4 separate regions of the Homo sapiens genome follow, and regions 1, 2 and 3 are each linked to region 4. Evidence: promoter capture Hi-C in 16 types of primary human blood cells and fetal thymus (Javierre and others, 2016). All regions are on one chromosome and are shown on one strand. Each heading gives the region's core, a stretch centred on a gene start or on the middle of the fragment in contact. The rest is flanking DNA. Distances are from core to core; before and after follow the strand shown. Region 1 overlaps PCDHB13 (protocadherin beta 13). Region 2 holds the start of PCDHGC5 (protocadherin gamma subfamily C, 5). Region 3 holds the start of PCDHB5 (protocadherin beta 5). Region 4 holds the start of PCDHGB1 (protocadherin gamma subfamily B, 1).

Region 1 (2,700 bases), core at 7-2,506, 130 kb after region 4:
TCATAAAAAGACTAAGCATTGTTCACAAGCATTTATTTCTATTAAGCTTGTGTGTTTCAAAATATGTAAAATATAATCTTAACTATTGGTTGCAGTAAAAAAAGTTTGAAAAATAGTTTCTGGTGTATATACATTAAATTATATGATAGTACAGGCAAAAATTTTTACACATTAACACACAACTCCAATTTATGCTATATGAATTATTATTTGGGCACAGGCATCTGCATTCAACTAGATTGCACTAGAGCTTTGTGACATTAATTAAAAAATTATAGCTTCATATTCCCAGATTCTGTGATTGGTCACAATATTAATGTGCCTGCACAATCCTCTCCAGGATGAATGAGGAAAGGATACTAAAAAACTGGTCTTCTGACCCTTTCGAATCAAGTGATAACACTTAGAGTTGTATCATAGGATATAGGTTTTCTGGTTTATTTTTGAAAGCAAAAAGCATATTTAAAGGTTAACTAAAAACGCACTGGATTTACAAAAAAGAAAAATGATATGTCTGAATAGGAGTCATTATTTTAAGACTAAAAAAAGAGAATCAAATGAAGAAATGCTGGAAAATTGGAATCACTTCCAAATTGCTCTATTTAATTTTACCATAAGCATAATAGTGGGTGAAGTTCAGCTAAAGATAGGGGCATGAAAAAAATGTGATTTGGTATTGCTCTTTAGGGAGGCAAATTAATTACAAATTAAGACCATCTGGGTTAAAGAATGAATTGTCACCTTTTAAGAACCAGGAATAAAGGTAAATGTTCACTTTAAAACAAAGGGAGAAAGAACATGAGAAAAATCAAGAGTAAATCCGTACAATATTACATACACACAAATTGGGGGAAATAAACATTGGCATGGAAATGCCACAAAATAAAATACCTATGGAATGTAAAAGTCAACTATGGTCACTGAATATTGAACCCAAAGTTATTGGGGAAGGTAGAATTTCCTTGTATTTCTTTCCCAGGGCACTGGGGAGGGAAGTTGGGGATAATCGGCTTCAGGAACTTGAACTCATTGGTCCCTGAGCCTCCTGCCAGACACACCTCATACTGGTAGCTCTGGGATAGGGTCCTGGTGCCGCTCATGTCCACAAGATGCCCTGGAAGGGGGCCCTCGGGCACCAAGCAGCGACCCACCGAGGCCGCCCTGCTCCTCCTACACAGCCGCACCGCCACGAACAGGAGCACCGAAAAGAGGAAGAGCGAAGACACCGAGGCCAACGCCACCACCAGGTAGACGGTGAGCAAGTCGGCCTGGGCCTGGGTCGGGGCCGCCTCCGGGAGAGGCAGGTAGGGCTGGGAGAAGCCGTCCACCAGGAGCACGTGCAGCGTGGCGGTGGCCGAGCGCGGAGGCTCGCCATTGTCCTTGACCAGCACCACCAGCCTGTGCTTGGCCGCGTCGCGCTCGCTCAGCAGCCTGGCGGTGCGCACCTCGCCATTGTGCGCCCACACGCCGAACAGACCGAGCTCCGTGGCCTTGAGCAGCTGGTACGACAGCCAGGCGTTCTGGCCCGAGTCGCCGTCCACCGCCACCACCTTGGTCACCAGGTAGCCCGGCTCGGCCGCCCGGGGCACCAGCTCGGTGCAGGGCGCGGAGCCGTTCTGCAGCGGGTACAGCACGAAGGGCGAGTTGTCGTTGGCGTCCAGCACCACCACGCGCACCAGCGCCTCGCTGCTCAGCGCCGGGGAGCCGTGGTCTGAAGCGCCCACGCGGAACTGGAACCCCTGCAGGGCCTCGTAGTCCAGAGACCTGAGGGCGAACAGGTGGCCGTTGTCCGCGTTGATGGAGACCAGGGATGTGAGGGGCAGGTGCGGGTCCTGGGGCGGCAGCAGCGAGTAGGTGACCTGGGCGTTGGTGCCTGAGTCTCTGTCTGTAGCGCTGACGCTGCGGATGTGCAGGGCGGGGCTGTTGTTCTCGCGGACGAACAGGGTGTAGGAGGTTTGGGTGAAGGCGGGAGCGTTGTCATTGACATCGGCGATCAGCACGGTCATATTGAGCTGTGTTATCAGCATAGGGGTCCCCAAGTCAGTGACAGTGATAGTGATGTTGTATTCCGCTCTGCTTTCTCTGTCTAGTGGTCTCTCCGTTAGTAGGGTGTAAAAGTTTTCCGCGGATTTCAGGAGGAAGGGTAGATCCTCCTGAATGGAGCAACTAATTTTCCCATTTTCTCCTGAATCAAGATCTGAAACACTGAAAAGTGCAACCACAGTTTCAGGCGCGTTCTCAGGTATTGGGCTGGTAAATGCAGACATGGTAACTTCTGGGGCATGGTCGTTCACATCTATCACTTGAATCAGAACGGTGCATTTTCCAGAAAAGGTTCCAGCATCTCTTGCCTCAATATTGACTTCATAGGACTGAAGTTTTTCGAAATCGAGTTGTTTTTTTAGTTCAATTTCTCCTGTCAAGGGATTGATCTTAAAGGTTTTGCCAATCTCTTCTGAAGCTTGGAAAAGTGAATAGGAAATCTCTCCGTTGACTCCTGTGTCTACATCCGTGGCAGAGACCTTCACAACCAGGAAGCCTACCGGACTGTCCTCAGAGATCTGCACTCTATAGAAAGGCTGCTCAAATTCAGGGGCATTATCGTTGACATCCAGGACTTCGATGTAGACCTGAGCAGTGCCAGATCTGGGCGGAGAGCCACCATCCAGTGCTGTGAGTGTTAACCTGAGCTCAGCTTCT
Region 2 (2,951 bases), core at 214-2,713, 140 kb before region 4:
CCCCACATCCACTTGAATCACACAGTGGCCCTCCATGGCAGGCTGTCCCTGGTCACGGGCTCTTGCATGAATTTCATAGAAACGTGACTCCTCAAAGTCTATGGGACCCAACACATGGATTGCCCCACTGCTAGGGTCTAGGCCAAAGAGGTTCCGCACTGCCTCAGATGTGTGGTCTCCAAAAGAATAGTCTAGTTGGCCGTTGGTGCCCTCGTCTGGATCAGTGGCATTGAGGCGGAGCAGCAGAGTACCAATGGGTGCATTCTCTGGGATTCCCACACGTAGAACTGAGGATTGGAAGGTTGGAGCATTATCATTGATGTCCAGCACGATGACAGAGATAAGGGTGGTCCCTGAGCGGGCTGGGGTCCCCCCATCCACAGCAGTAAGCACCAGCTGATGTCTTGCCTGGGCTTCACGATCCAGCTGCTGCTCTAGCACCAGCTCTGGGAATGGCTTCCCATCTTTTAGGGTCTTCACATTCAGAGAGAAGTGGCTGTTGGGGCTTAGAGTGTAAAAGCTCACAGTATTGGTGCCCACATCCGGATCCTGGGCACTGTCCAGTGGGAATCGTGCCCCAGATGCTGCTGATTCTGAGATGCGCATCTCTCGCTCAGGGGTGGCAAAGCTAGGAGAGTTGTCATTGAGATCCAGGATCTCTACCTCTACACGGATTAGCTCCAGGGGGTGTTCAGTCACCACCTGCACTGGCAGCAGGCAGCTGGTGCTGGCTCCACATAGGCTTTCTCGGTCAATCTTTTGATTCACTGCCAGGGCACCACTCATCAAGCTCAGGGAAAAATAGCGCCCATTCTCCTCAGAGCCCAATTGCAGCCGCCGGCTCAACAGATCTGTCATCTTTAAGCCCAGATCCTGAGCAACATTCCCCACCAGCGTCCCCGGCTCAGACTCCTCCACCACTGAGTAACGAAGCTGCCCAGACACCCAGCCCCAGCAGCACAAGGACAACATGCACAGCACTTGCCATTTCCCAGCGAGCTGTGGGAGTGTCTTGGGCCCCATGACCCAGAAGTCCCTTTGTGGAGAGTAAGTCTGTGCTGTCCTGTCTCCAAGGTAGACCCAGGGCTTGGAATGCAGCAGCTGAAGTCTCTTATGTCTCCTTCCAGCCTCTTAAAAACTGCTCGGAGGTTTGCCTGCTTGCAGCAGTTCTTAGTCACCGAGTGGCGGGGGTGGGCAGGGGGGAGGGGAGCTGAATTTGAGTGGAGCTGGGGAGCTGGAGGAGGAGAGGCGGGCTGGAAGAGCAGATCTCCCACCTCAGCTCTGAGTCTGATTGGCCAAAAAGTCTGTGTGCTCTCAACCAATTATGGAGTTTCCTCAATCCTGGAAACCTTGGGAACACAGGCTGCAAATCTGTGTCACAGAAGCTTCCTACCTCCCCACTCACTTCGTGCTGCAGGTTGATTCAGCCCCCTTGGCAGCAAAGTTTGACAGCTCAGATGGTACTCAACAGGGAAGACAAAGTGATACAAAACTCCTCAGCGTTCTGTCCCAGCAACTTCCTGCATGACTTCAGAAGCTTCCACCACTTTGCTTGAACCAGCAAAATCTTGTCCTTCTGGGAGAGGCAAAGCCCATGTATTCCCCCACCCTCCCCCATCCTGCTGAATGCTGCTAAGGTGAGAGAAAAGATTAGTAAGAACCTTGTAAAGTCTTGCCCTGACTCTCCAGCAATGCTTTGCGGAAATCTCAATGTCAGCTGACATGGGACTTAGCTTTTCTGACACCCCAGACCCCAAATGTGGAATGAGTGTTACAGTTTTTGGGTAGGGGAACATTTCTGGGGCTGAATCAGGTCACCCAGGAGGGTGGTCAGAGGCCAAGCATGGATGGCTTGGCTTCTAGGTTTCATGGTTTCACCAAATTCAGGAGAACTCAACTTAAAGATGCACAGGGTGGCTGTTTCTATGAATCAGCCAACTGTAAACCAGTTTTCTGACATAAGTGATTTCACTTACTGTTTTTTCCAAAGGTGATGACCAACCCGCCCCAACCTTCCAATTTACCGCATCTAGTTCAAATCCCCAGTAGGGACTTGATATGAGTCCTAAGACCCAGACCAAAAGATCTATGCCACCACTCTGATGCGTGCCTCTCTATTCCTTTAGTTCTCTCCTCTTTCTGCTGTCTCTATGTTTCAAATAGAGAGGTCCCTTCACAGTGTACTAGATACTGGGAGACAAAGATTTTATTTCCCCTCAATCCCTTGGGAAATGGTAACCTAGAGTTAAGGTACTTCAGAATCTGATCCCCTCTTTCAGGAAGAGTAGAGAAAACAGCCACCTTTGTCCAAGTGACTGCCTGGTGCACTGTACCCTGTGCACTGTAGCCTCCTGTGCTCCCACATTCCATCATCATGCTTCCACAACAGCCTGGCTCTTGATCACCAATTACTTTCATTTCTTACTCAGATATAGGCATGACCCGCCCCCAATGCTAAACTGTGACAACTCTGGTTAATTCACGAAACAGTTACAAAGCACAGCGTCTACCACATAGTTACCTCTTACAAAAATGGTGACATCACTATGGGCACTTACTGAGAGGCCAGTACTCTCTAGGACATGGCCTAGCCATATGCCTGGATCAGAATAACCCTCAAGCATTTGTTGAGCCTGCAAAGGTCTCACCTCTAGCCCATAGAGAAGATCAGAGGGTGGGCAGCTTGGGCGAACAGGCTCCCCTGCCATAGGTGCACTGGGTGACTTCACCATCATGAAGCTATCACTCCGAGTGGGTGCAGAAGCCAAGGGTGTACAGCCATGAGAGTGGCCTCCCACATCAACAAACTTGATAGGGTCATCTGACCCTAGCTGGATTCGGAGGATCCCATTGGAAGGGGGAAGCCCCTCCCTCCTTCGAGATCTGGTGAGACAGGCACAGGTGCCAGCAGGAAAGCATGTGACTCCACAGGCTGCCCCACGAAGACACTT
Region 3 (2,700 bases), core at 136-2,635, 210 kb after region 4:
TCTGGATGGAGCAAATCATCCTACCGTTGTCCCCGGAGTCTGGATCAGAAACACTGAAAACGGCAACTACAGTTTCCGGGGCATTTTCTGGGGTAGGGCTGGAGAGCGTAGACATGGTGAGTTCAGGGGCGTTGTCATTCACATCCACCACTTCTATAGCCACAGTGCATTTTCCTGAAAGGCCCCCACCATCTGTGGCTACAATTTCCACGTTATAATATGGAGTTGCCTCGAAATCCAATGCCCTTTTCAGGCGAATTTCTGCTGTTTTCTCGTCTATTACAAATGGTTGAGTAACTTCATCGCCTTGGAATAGAGCATAGGCTACACTCCCATATGCTCCTGCATCTAAATCTCGAGCGGAGACAACGACAACTAAGGAGTTAAGGGGGCTGTTCTCGGGCACCTGTACCTCATAGAATGATTGTAAAAATTCGGGGGCGTTGTCATTATTATCCAAGACGACAATGCGAATTGTGGTGGTCCCGGACCTGGGCGGAGCCCCACCGTCCAGTGCAGTGAGTGTTAAGCTGAGCTCAGGCCGCTCCTCCCGGTCCAGCGCTTTGTCCAGCACCAGCTCTGGGTATTTTCTGCCATCTCCGCGATTATGCGTAGCAACATGAAAGTGTGAATTTGGGCTGATTGTGTAGTTCTGAACAGTGTTGCTACCTATGTCAAAGTCCTGGGCTATTTTTAAGGGAAACACAGTCCCTGGCTGGGTGCTCTCTGGGATTTTTAGGAGCATTTCCTTCTCTGGGAACTCTGGGGCATGGTCATTTATATCTGTGAGCTGCAGATCAGTTTGAAAAAACTGCACTGGATTTTCTAGTAAGAGCTGGAAATGCAATATACAGGGTTCTGTCGCCCCGCACATCACCTCCCGGTCTAGTTTTTCATATAGAAGCAAATTGCCGGTCTTTATATCAAGCTGCAAGAGCTCTTTGTTTCCTTTGTAATGCATTCGCGCGCCCCGAGTGGCCAGTTCCCCCACCCCAAGACCCAGGTCTTTTGCCAGGTTGGCCACAGAATAGCCACTTTCTGTTTCTTCTGGTATGGAATACCTAACTGCCTCAGAGCCAGCCTCCCACAAAAGCAACAATATAGCAAGAAACATAACTTGCCTTTTCTGTGGCGTTTTTGCTAGCGCAGTCTCCATTGTTCAGACCCGGTCCAGAAGGCGCAGTTTAACTCCGTACACAATCCACCCAGATGATTTGCATAAATAACCGCGAATCCGATCTTTCTTGACTGATTTCCACAAGAACGAAGCCCACCCTGAAGATCTAGCCACTAGATCTTACCTAAAATGCGTCCTTCTTTTAGAGTTTGGATTCCCCAGCTTAATGGCGTCTGAGTTATCCGCAGAGCCCACTATCCACACTCTTAGCCTGCAGCGCCACCAGGCGTCCTAATTTACTATTGCATATAGTATTTGCCATTTCATCCTAAATTCTAACTGACGTGTATCCATACCCTTTTGTCACATAAGCTCTCCCGATGGTATCTCCAGCTCTTAGTTGCTGAAAGTTCTAAATAAATGTTGTGGAGTTAATTTTCAGTGAGAAAATACTTTTGAGAAAAAAACTAAAATTATATATTAATCTCCATAAAAGTACCCTTGAGTACACAAATACACTTTGTTTGGTGTTTCTTATTTGATTATATTAAATAAGTGATCAGGAATATCTATAGAAATTTAAAGTTTAAGAAAAATTACTTTCACTTTGAAGTAAACACCAATAACACCCAGAAAATGGCACAAATCATAGGTGTATAACTCAATGAATTTTCGCAAAGTGAACACACTCCTGTAAGTAGAACCTAGATTAAAAATACTACCCAAACCCAAGTCCCCACCTGCTATTGTCTGGTTACCACCCTCTCCCCAAAAGATAAGCACTGTCCTGACTTCTGTTGTCATAGGTTTTTTTTGCTTTTTTTTTTTTTAACTTTATACAAATGGAGTTATAGATTGTTACTCTCGTGTGTCTGGCTTCTTCTCCTCAATATTATGTTCAGCAAATTGATCTGTGGCATCTTGTTCTTATTTGTTTTATTCTCATTGCTTTATATCATTCTGTTGTATGAATATACTATGATTTATTTATTCATTCTCCAGTTGATGAACATTGTTTTCCAGGTTTAAGCTCTTTGGGGTAGTACTGGTATAAACATCCTTGTACTAGTCTTTTGGTGACCACATATATGTGTTTATGTTGAATATATTCAAAGGAGTTGGATTGCTATGCATTAAGATGTGCACATATATTTTGCTTTAGCAGATAATGAGAAAGTTTTCTCAAGTAGTCGTACTAATACCAGCAAAGTATGAGAGTTCCAGTTGCTCCACATTCTTGTCAACATTTGATGCTATCTTTTCCATTTTAAACCACTCTGGTTAGTGTATGGTGATATGATATTGTAATTTTAGTTAGCATTTTCCCTGATGATTAAACAATTTGAGCACATTTTCATGTTTATCAGCCATTAGGATACAATCTTGTGAAGGGCTTATGCAAACCTTTTTACTTTTTTGGGGGGAGGCATTTGCCTGTTTGCTTATTGATCTGCAGAAGTTTCTCATATATTCTGGGCATAAGTCCTTTTTAAGATATATGTATTGCAAATATCTTTTCCCACTCTATGGTTTTTATTTCAAGTCTATTATGTGTCTTTGATGAATAAAATTTCTTACCTTTA
Region 4 (2,824 bases), core at 80-2,579:
TTTGAAAGGAACTTCTTCCTGAGTATAGCATGTCACCATGCCATTTTGCCCAGAATCCTTGTCTCGCACTTTTATGAGGGCTATTACAGTTCCAAGGTCTGAATCCTCTGGAATCTGGTTAGAGAAGGACATGAATGTCACCTCTGGGGCATTGTCATTCTCGTCAACAATTTCTATTTGAACATTACAGTGAGCTGTGTGTACTCCTCCATCCTTAGCTTCCACACTCAACACATATCTACTTGTCTCTTCAAAATCCAATGTGCCATTGGTTGTGATGTCGCCAGTATTTGGATTGAGATTGAAGAGGCTGGTACTTATTGGGGAATTGAGGAAGGCATAGGTGATCTCTGCATTAATGCCCTCATCCTGGTCTGTGGCCATCACCCGCAGCACGGAGGTTCCCCACGGTACGTTTTCTTGGAGGCTAACCCTGTATACCTCCTGGCTAAACACGGGAGCATTATCATTGGCATCCGTAACTCGGATCCAGATATGGGTGGTGCCGCTTAGAGGCGGGTCCCCGCCATCCATGGCAGTCAGGATTAAGCGATGAGAGCTCTGATGTTCCCTGTCTAGAGGTTTTTCCAGCAGTAATACCGGATATTTACTTCCATCAGGACTTTCCTTCGTTGACAGAGAGAAGTATTGATTGGGGTTGATGGTGTATAACTTCAGTGAATTGCCTTCCACATCTGCATCTTGAGCAGAATCCAGAGAGAATTTTACCCCGGGTAAGGCTGACTCACAAATTTCTAAGTCAATGCCTTTTGCAACGAAACGTGGTGCATTGTCATTAATATCTTGGATTACAACAACCACGTGGAAAACATTCATTGGGTTTTCAGCGACCGTTTCGAATTCTAGTGCACACTCAAGTTTCCTTCCGCAAATCTTCTCTCGATCTATCCTACCGTTCACTAACAAATCCCCGCTCTCCAAACTAACGTTGAAATAATCCTCTGCACTAACCCGCAGTTTTCGAGTTGGCAACTCCCGGACACTGAGCCCCAGATCCTTGGCAAGTTTCCCCACCCGTGAGCCGTTGGCTAGCTCCTCTGGAATCGTGTATCGGATCTGCTGGGAGATGGCCCCGCAGAACAAAGACAGCAGGAAGGGAAACAGTACCTGACTTTTCATCATTTCGGCTTCTCTGGCTCTCTGCATTTCAGGAACTCTCCGCGGAGCTTCTTTCCTCTGGGATGTTTTTCAAAAAGAAATGGCAGCACCCTGGACTTCTGTGATTTGAGCTTAGGACTTATTAGTTAGGCGCTCGAGGGTGAACAGGAGCAGCGTCTGTGCTCAGTGCACCGGACAAAGCAGGAAGGCACCCTGCCTGACGCTCCTGCAGAATTGAGAAGCCTTCACTTCCTTTTGGTCGACAGCGGCGCCCAGAGGTTGTCTTGGAAAACTGCACAGGGCCCAGCTTTTTATCCTCAAAGCGCAACCTCTTGAATCTATGTACCCTGTCTTTAATTTGCTGGAGGGAAACACATACTCACATTTTCCCCTTTACATTTCAGTTTTCTAGTTTGTCATCATCAGATAAGGGCCTTCATCATTTCGTATTCTTTTTTCATTTAAAAAATTCACAAGGTACACTGCCATTTTTTTCAGTTTTGGGGGTAAAAAAAAATCTTCAGTGATTTCACTATATTTATAAACTCTGGCATGACTGCTGTATCCAAATAAGTGAATTGATAATTTTTATTTATATTTTTAGTTGACTAAAATACCTACCTTTCTGTAAATTCATTGGAATAAGCTCCCTTATCTAGTATTTTAAATCTCTCCATATATATGTTATCAATTCAGTAATACTTTTCAAAAATAGTTTTTGCAAAAAAGAGGAAATCACAGCCTTACTATTATGTTATTTCTCTTCTTTATAAAATATAGATAATCTTTCCAGTTAAGTAGGACAAAGTCTGATATTTTGTTAAAAGGGCCAATTTAGTGTTGGGGTACACATACATGCTTTTATGAAGTGGAATCTCATATAATGTACATTTGTTTTATGAAACCAGTGCTTCTTTTTTATATGAATGTATATTAAATACTCTAGGCTGGGTGCAGTGACCTGTGATCCCAGCACTTTGGGAGGCCAAGGTGGGAAGAACACATGAGGTCAGGAGTTTGAGACTAGCCTGTCCAACATGGTGCAAGCCATCTCTACTAAAAAAAATAAAAATTATCCAGGCATGGTGGCGGGTACCTGTAACGCCAGCTACTCGGGAGGTTGAGGCAGCAGAATCACTTAACTCAGGAGGCAGAGGTTGCAGTGAGTTGAGATCATGCCACTGAAGTCCATCCTGGGTGACAGAGCAAGACTCTGTCTCAAAAACATTCTCTATAATGCCAATTCTCAGCTCCAGCCGACTTATACCATTAATGAGCAAAACGAGTTTGACTTGACCACTGGTAAATATTGGAGAGGTATTCAGAGTTCTTAGACACCCAATTTTGGAACTTATTCTGTAGTTCCAGGCTTAGAACCAGTCTTGGTTCAAAGCAAATCCCTTTATTTCAAATGCATTACCAAATGAGATCCAACTCAACAATTTATTCTACTATTTTGCAGTGCTCACCCATACTCATACTCTATTCGAAACAGCCTATTATCTGTTTTCTTAAGATACCTTTTCACTTGTTTCCTTGCATCATGCCTTTATACTTTCCATTCCTTTTACTATGAACTTCTCCTCCCTTTCTGTTGTAGTGGATTCTTGCCCATTCTTCAAAAAAATAAAAATAAATCCTTTTTAGTGAAAATGGGATGTCTGAGACCTTCCATTACCTGTACAAGTAGGTGGAATTGTATGGG

The links. The method cuts DNA at HindIII sites, captures the fragments that hold promoters and counts their contacts. A CHiCAGO score of 5 or more calls a contact.
Region 1: a fragment that was not itself captured here is called in contact with the fragment with the promoter of PCDHGB1 in region 4 in 1 of 17 cell types (endothelial precursors); the score reaches 8.1 in endothelial precursors.
Region 2: a contact is called between a fragment that was not itself captured here and the fragment with the promoter of PCDHGB1 in region 4, in 1 of 17 cell types (total CD8 T cells). The highest score is 5.1, in total CD8 T cells.
Region 3: the fragment with the promoter of PCDHB5 here is called in contact with the fragment with the promoter of PCDHGB1 in region 4 in 17 of 17 cell types (monocytes, neutrophils, erythroblasts and 14 more); the score reaches 26.4 in monocytes.

The regions. Positions count from the first base shown.
Region 1 is chr5:141,214,738-141,217,437 of GRCh38, reverse strand. It overlaps PCDHB13 (protocadherin beta 13), which reads right to left. Exons shown (of 1, transcript NM_018933.4): 1 at 1-2,700. The coding sequence ends at 918. It also overlaps PCDHB@. Among named protein-coding and RNA genes, the nearest start is that of PCDHB13, 2.2 kb to the right of the region's middle. RefSeq lists an enhancer at 1,414-1,942. The HindIII fragment of the contact is 2,415 bases long and covers 49-2,463 here.
Region 2 is chr5:141,487,313-141,490,263 of GRCh38, reverse strand. All of the region lies in intron 1 of PCDHGA1 (protocadherin gamma subfamily A, 1), which reads right to left. All of the region lies in intron 1 of PCDHGA2 (protocadherin gamma subfamily A, 2), which reads right to left. All of the region lies in intron 1 of PCDHGA3 (protocadherin gamma subfamily A, 3), which reads right to left. All of the region lies in intron 1 of PCDHGB1 (protocadherin gamma subfamily B, 1), which reads right to left. It also overlaps PCDHGA4, PCDHGB2, PCDHGA5, PCDHGB3, PCDHGA6 and PCDHGA7, and 13 more genes. The HindIII fragment of the contact is 152 bases long and covers 1,388-1,539 here.
Region 3 is chr5:141,133,891-141,136,590 of GRCh38, reverse strand. It overlaps PCDHB5 (protocadherin beta 5), which reads right to left and starts at 1,385. Exons shown (of 1, transcript NM_015669.5): 1 at 1-1,385. The coding sequence starts at 1,156. It also overlaps PCDHB@. The HindIII fragment of the contact is 16,081 bases long and covers 1-2,700 here.
Region 4 is chr5:141,348,604-141,351,427 of GRCh38, reverse strand. PCDHGB1 (protocadherin gamma subfamily B, 1) reads right to left here and starts at 1,329. Exons shown (of 4, transcript NM_018922.3): 1 at 1-1,329. The coding sequence starts at 1,167. All of the region lies in intron 1 of PCDHGA1 (protocadherin gamma subfamily A, 1), which reads right to left. All of the region lies in intron 1 of PCDHGA2 (protocadherin gamma subfamily A, 2), which reads right to left. The region is part of intron 1 of PCDHGA3 (protocadherin gamma subfamily A, 3); the gene reads right to left. It also overlaps PCDHG@. The HindIII fragment of the contact is 7,439 bases long and covers 1-2,824 here.